Regions from separate parts of the Homo sapiens genome. Here region 2 is linked to region 1. The links are contacts of gene promoters, found by promoter capture Hi-C in human tissues and cell types (Jung and others, 2019). All regions are on one chromosome and are shown on one strand. The core of a region is centred on a gene start or on the middle of the fragment in contact, and the rest is flanking DNA. Distances in the headings are between cores, read along the strand shown.

What was found. Contacts are between HindIII fragments. The study calls those that stand out against the background at their distance.
Region 2: a fragment that was not itself captured here is called in contact with the fragment with the promoter of TES in region 1 in 1 of the 25 tissues and cell types used here (dorsolateral prefrontal cortex).

Annotation. Positions count from the first base shown.
Region 1 is chr7:116,208,612-116,212,106 of GRCh38, forward strand. TES (testin LIM domain protein) reads left to right here and starts at 1,928. Exons shown (of 7, transcript NM_015641.4): 1 at 1,928-2,123. The coding sequence starts at 2,097. RefSeq lists silencers at 1,647-1,776, 1,810-2,072, 1,827-2,026, 2,167-2,256 and an enhancer at 2,617-2,856. The HindIII fragment of the contact is 11,100 bases long and covers 1-3,495 here.
Region 2 is chr7:117,287,374-117,290,868 of GRCh38, forward strand. All of the region lies in intron 4 of WNT2 (Wnt family member 2), which reads right to left. The region is part of intron 1 of LOC124900596 (a long non-coding RNA gene); the gene reads left to right. Among named protein-coding and RNA genes, the nearest start is that of WNT2, 34 kb to the right of the region's middle. The HindIII fragment of the contact is 3,972 bases long and covers 1-3,245 here.

The DNA of each region.
Region 1 (3,495 bases), core at 678-3,177:
AAATGTGTGCCATCTTCTATTCATTCCACTGTCATCAACTACATGTACTCATCAAACCATGCCAGTTCTACCTCCTTAATAACTGTAGCTTAACACCTGAATAACTGAACAAAAACTTACAATTTAACTCTCTTAACACTTATCTACCTCAATTTTATTTTTATAATTTATACATAATCTATAATTATTTTTATATAATTGGCACAGTGATAATTCCAGATAAAACTCACTGAATTTCTATTTCCATCCTTGCCAATGATACACACACACAATGTAATGCTGAGAGGGTTGGGAAGGAAGAATGGGAGAAAGGCAGAAGTTGACAGTTAAAAAAAAAAAGTTTCCAGATGGTTTTCTTAGTGTCATCTCTGCAACCTCATCAAATAAGGGTCCAAAATTTATGTTACAACATTTGTTTGATGCCTTATTTAAATTGCTTTACTGGACATTTTCCATCTGTTAAGCTCTCTGAAAGAAACAAAATTGCCTTGTCATAGCTAGACCTCATGATCCTATACACTTACAACGGGCAGACTTTGCAGGGGCCCACACCTTTCAAGGTGGTTTGGGAAAATGACACAGAAAAGTTTTACATCAGCTGAAAAGAAAAATGCATAACTCATTTTGGTAATTTCAGTTTTAATTCTTAATAGGATAAAGGAAACATGCACATTATAAATCAATGCTCTGTGTTAACAAATAATCAAGTAAGCAGAGTTGCAAGTATTGGCTAAAATGAATTTTGGATATTTTTAGCTACCAAATTTCTCGAGGCAAGGCAGACATACATCTGGACCTGAATATCTGCATTATTAGGGAATTTTTGTTTGTTTGTTTTATATTGTTTTGTTATTTTTAAAAGTAGGTGCCAAATTAGGTCACCTGCTGTCTGGGCAATGTTATTTTTTGCCATAACCACAAATTGAAGAAAATTGACTGCTCTTTTTCCTTAGTCAACATGCTGTGCTTCCAGCCCCAAACATCTTTGAGAAGTTGTTTAGATTCATGAGCAATGCCTCTGTCCCCAACAGGCTAAGACATTAGGCAGGTCCCTGCACCTCTGGAGTCCTCAGTTCCCTGCAAAGTGAGGAAGCTAGACTAAGTAATCGTTAGGCTCCCTTCCAGACCGACCAATCTGATGGTATTAGATGCAATTGCTCCTGAATTAGGGCATGAAATGAATTCAGCTTTGGTGCACCAATGTGATGACTCTGCTTCATCAAAGCCTGAGCACGCGATAGGCCTAGCACCATCTCACACAGAGACAAAGGGCAACCCTCTGCTTCCAAAGGAATGACACAACCTGTTTCTGAAGTGATTCACATCATCTTTACTTTTGAACAACCCAATGCTCAGAAAACAATCTAAGAATCTTCGCTGACTTTAGGGATGTAAGATACGGTTTCTTGACAGTATTTGGGATTGTGGAAAAAAGCAATTGAGGAAAGGGCATCTCCACAACGCAATATTGAATTTAGTGCCCAAGGTCCATCACAGGAATCCCTAACGATCCCTACAATCTCTCTCTCTCTCTTTTTTTTCTCTCTTTACCCTGAAAATAAACTGAGAAGTTAGTATTGGGATAACTATTCCCCTTGACCCAAATAAAAAGTCCTGGGCAAACACAGGTACAAATTGCCAAATGGAAAAAGTTCTTCTCCATCTTCAGCTAGAGGGAGGCTGGGGATCCCAGCTCTTTAGAAGCCGGCCCGTGGACGCCCAGAGAATCCCTTCGGAGACCAGGTCAGGGTCACTGAGCTTGCCCAGCAGGGCGCCGCCTCGGACGCCGCCCCGCCTCTCACCTTGCCAGCGCCGCGCTCGGGCCGCGAAGGTGCGTGCGGCGCTCGGTGATTGGCGGCGGCCCGGAGCTGCCCGGCTGCCATTGGCTGCCCGGCCCCCTTTGTTCCCGGGTCCGGGCCGCAGGCCCGCTGCGGCGGACTGGGCGGCGGAAGTTCGACGGCGCCGGGCGAGTGGCTGTTGAGCGGCGCCGCGGGAGTTCCGCAGGTTTCCCGTGTTCGCAGCGGAGCCGGAGGCCAGCTGAACCCGGCCGTGGGATCCCGGATAGGAGGAGGAGGGGACCCATAGGACGCGTTAACATGGACCTGGAAAACAAAGTGAAGAAGGTAGGGGGGCGCTCGTGGCGGGCGGCGGCTGCTTCACCTGCGCGGGTCGCGCGGCGCGCGGCGGCCGGAGGTGCCGAGGTGGGTGGGGCTCGCGGGCCCCCCGGTGTGAGCCCGGCTCTGGGTCTGCGGTGCCCCGGGCCCAGGGACCTGGCCCCCTGGGTAGAGGAGGTGCTCGGCGGCCCCGCCAGCTCCCCACACTCGGGAGCGACAGAATTGGAAGCGCGAGCGAGGGCGGGCGCGGGACTCTTCTCTCCAGTCTCACGGAATCCCAGTGGTTGTAGGTGTTGGAAACTTTACTTAAGATGTTTCAGCTCTGCCTGTGCCTCCTCAAAAGGAAAGGACGAGCTTAGGGCGAGTGCGGGCGAGACCGTGACACTTCCTGGCTCAGGAAGTTGAATTTCATTAAGCCTTTGTGGTTTGGGGCTCTGCTGTGCTTTGACAGCTCTGATCTCCTCCCTTCCGGCTGGGCTGTCTGGGGCGCTCTAAAATGAGTGTTGATTTAATGCACTGCCTTCGCACCCGTGCTGGTGATAACTTCTAATGTGATTTTTTTTTCGGTCATTCATTACTTGTCTACCGACCGAGGCAGTGCCTCCCTCTTAGGGAATTATCTGTCAAAGAGCGCATTCTCCTTGTTTGGCAGGTAGTCCCAAAGGGCGGTTGTCACCAGCGTCTCAGCGCAGGGAGACATTTTCAGCTTGGCTGCTGCCTCGCAGGCACTGGAACCGACGGCCCTACCTGAGCCACTCCCGGGTTATGCGGAGCCTGGTGTCGCCTGGGAGAAAAGGGTGGGGACCAGACTATGACTCAGAAGGAATGCTGATGTCACATTCGAGTGAATTGCCCTGTGCGAAAGTTCTCCTCGTTCCAGGGGATTTGCTCATGTTTTACTTTGTGGTAAATTTAAGCTAGCTGTCCCTTATCAAATAGAGAAGTTTTGCAGAGAGAGGAAGGGAAAAATACAGAAAACAGTTTTTGTTTTTCTCATACTCATGGTTCCTAATATTTTATCTTCTAAACACAAAGTTTTTGACTTGAGCATTAATTCTATTTTATGCCCAGAACTGGATTTTTGAAAATGGATACAAAATATTGTGTTAGGACTGCAGAGTTTTCGGTTAGGAAGCTATTGACCAATAAAAACTCGAAATGAGAAAACAGTTTTTTTCATTCCTTGCGACTAAAATTCTCAGGCACTCAAAAAGGTATCCAAGAACAGAAAAACATAAATTGTTAATGGTAGCGTGATTGCATTCTATTCTCTTCCCATTTGGTTTCTTTCTTTTTTTCTTTTAAATAACTGTAATATTTTTGGTTAATCTTGCTTGTCATGGGGGAAAAGCGGGGAAAGCATTTTGCCCGCTTAGCTTTC
Region 2 (3,495 bases), core at 10-2,509, 1.1 Mb after region 1:
ATCTGCTGCATTGGCCTTTCCTGTAACTCCTTCCATCAGAAGTCTTCCCATCCTTCCAGATTCAGGCCTACTTCAGCATTTTCTATACAGCACTTTCGGTCTGCAAGCCCAGCTAACCTCCTTCATTAGGCCTGTAATGCACATCACGCCACAGGGTTCATGCACTGTTTGGAAATATTTGATCATTTTTTCATGCATCTTGTCTCCCCAGGGACAGGGGTTGGGTCTTATGCTTTCTTCTTATGCTTTCTTCTATATACTGTGTGGTCAACACATATGTGCTGATTTATTAAATATTACATTAAAAATAGTGTCTTAAAAATTTAGATCAAGGCTGGGTGTGGTGGCTCATGCTTGTAATATCAGCACTTTGGGAGGTCAAGGTGGGCAGATCACTTGAGGTCAGGAGTTCAAGACCAGCCTGGCCAACATGGTGAAACCCCATCTCTACTAAAAATACAAAAATTAGCTGGCCATGGTGGTGGACACCTGTAATCCCAGCTACTCGGGAGGCTGAGGCAGGAGAATCGTTTGAACCCAGAAGGCAGAGGTTGCAGTGAGCTGAGATTGGGCCATTGTACTCCAGCCTAGGTGACAGAGCAAGACTCCGTCTCAGGGAAAAGAAAAAAAAAAATTAAGATCAGCTTTCCTTTTGCCTGATGAGGGCACATTTCTCCAGGGACTGGTCACCCAGTCTTCAGGCACCATGGTGGCAGCAGACCAGCTAAACCTTGGCTCTGTTAAAATGATCTTGCTTGGTATATGGAAAACACATACCAAAAACGTGGCACATTTTTAAATGATAGAAATTAAAAATGACAACTTAAGAAAGTTTGTGGTATCAATTTAAGGTTCTGTTATTGCAAACTTAATTAAACTTAATAATTAATTCATTCACTTACTGAATCAAAGGAACCTTAGAAATTGCTAGATGAAACAGCCATTTCTTAAGAGACCCAGAGAAGTTAATTTGCCCATTAGTCCAATTGGAGAAATAGTGATATGCAGCAATCTGTAGCACCAAAGTCTCCTTATAGATCACACAGGGCTCTTTCCCTAATAATATGAAATTTGCATATCTTTAAAAAAGATATTTACCAGTACAAAATAGGTGTCATGGGGAAAGCTTAAATGAAGTAAGCAAATTTGTTATTTTAAAGTATTTTAACGTCATCCTTTTGTTTGCAACACATTTAATTGGTAATTCGAAATGAGTAGTTTCTATTTCCAAAATACAAAGATAAAAGGGCATCTATTTGGTAAAGTATTTGTCAGTAGTTCAAACTATGTCAAAGAATTAGAAATAAGAAAATAAACATTTTTTTCCTGAAAAGTATCTTTTTTTTTAGAAAAAAAATCCTTTTTTCAGTATTCACAATTCAATCTGATTACCACTGTCAATTCAAATTAAGGCACATTTTAGTGTATCCTAAAAATATAGTAATTCTACTAAGTTTGTATTTTAAAAATAACACAGATTTATAGATTCTGCCTACAACATCAAAGAGCATTGGATGTGAAAAGTATTTTTGCTGTTAATATGAGAATTAGGAACTACTCAGGGAGGCCACTGATAGTAGTGAGTGAAAAATGCCCCTCCAAGAGTAAAAGAACTGAGTCTCTGCTGCCAGTTAAAAGCGATAGATATAGTCTGCTGATGCATTAGTTCACGTTAGACTTTTTTTTTTTTTTTTTTTTTTTTTTGAGACAGAGTCTTGCTCTGTTGCTCAGGCTGGAGTTCAGTGGCACAATCTCGGCTCACTGCAAGCTCTGCCTCCCAGGTTCACGCTATTCTCCTGTCAGCCTCCTGAGTAGCTGGGACTACAGGCGCCCACCACAACGCCCGGCTAATTTTTTTGTATTTTTAGTAGAGACGGGGTTTCCCCGTGTTAGCCAGGATGGTCTTGATCTCCTGACCTCATGATCCTCCTGCCTCGGCCTCCCAAAGTGCTAGTATTACAGGCGTGAGCCACTGCGCCCGGCCCACTTGAGACTTTTTATCTCCAGGGGAATAGCCAGGCAAGCAACATCTGAAACTCCATAAATGCCTCATGAATGCGCCTGAATATGAGGAAAAATTCCATTGAACACTTAAGCTTAAATGGGAATTTTCATAGGCTGTGAGTTAAAAGCTAAGCAGTGCTGGGTGGAGATGTGCCTAGTAATCCCCTTCAAAGGAACCAAGTTATCTTTAAGCTATGAAGCAGCGCTAACACACAGAAGAATGCAGCTAATCTAATGAAACTGTTTTATGTTTTTTTATAATTTGCCATTCAATTCACTTCAACACATGTTTGTGTACTAGGAGTTGGGGAACTAGTGAGCAAGGCAGATACAGTTCCTGCCGTCACAGGATCCTCAGTGGACTCCATTGGTACAGGCAGGTCACAAACACATGTTTATACAAATTCGCTATACACACTGTGGCACATGCTATGCTCAAAAGAACATAGCTCTGTTTGGACCTAGGGGTTGGTAGTAAGGATGGAGAAGCAGATAGGTCCTTGACACATTTAAGAGGTCCCAGTGGTACCCGGGATGATGGAGGTGACAAGGAAGGAGTGTAAGGAATGACTCGCAGGTTTATGCTTGACCATGGAAGTGGGTGGCAGGCAGTACCATTTTCTGAGATGAGGAGGGCTGGGGGAAAACAAGTTTCAGGGGACAGGGCAAATAAGGAGTCCAGTTTTAAGCAGAAGCAGGTTGATATAATTGTATGAAATCTGGGTGAAGCTGTCAAGCAGGGAATTGGATACAGGATGATGGTACAGAAGGCAGACAAGGACAGGGACAGCATTTAAAACCATAGGAATGGAGAGACCAAACCAGGGAGAAAGTACAGAGAGAGAGCAAAGAGAGTTCAGACAGCCTGGAAGATCTTCAAAATTTGGAGAAGGAGAAACTAGCAACTGAAATCAGAAAGGACTAGTTATTGGAGCAGGAGGAAAAGCAGAGGAGTGTAGTTATAAAGTCAAGGAAATAAGACTGTTTTGGGAAGGAGGGAAAGGCTAATTATACTATATGCCACTAAAGAGTTTGAAAAGAAGGCTCAATGGATAGTAATTACTACTAATTCTAGAGTATAATCAATAACTACCCATGAAAATGGTGACTTATAAGCCTCAGTGAAACATTTTTTTCTACAATTCTCTTCTGGTCTAGCTATCTTAGCACCTTTTAGATATCAATCCATGAATTTCTATAAGTGTCAAAGCAGAAGGAGATGAATAACTTATTCTTTACCTTGTCAAAATGACATATATAAGATAAGACCTTATAACAGAGCAATGCAACAAGGACTGAAACCTAAACACCACCACTTTCCTGCCCCAGTGTGAGGGTTCTCCAGCACCTAGACTGTGTCCCAGTGCCTGGCTACTGCTTCAAGGACCATGAAGTCGATGACACCACGAGGATAAGGACTGAGTCTGTTTTCCTCAATCCTGCGTTCCCAGTGATTATAAGAGTGTCTGGCACATAGGAGGATCTCAATCA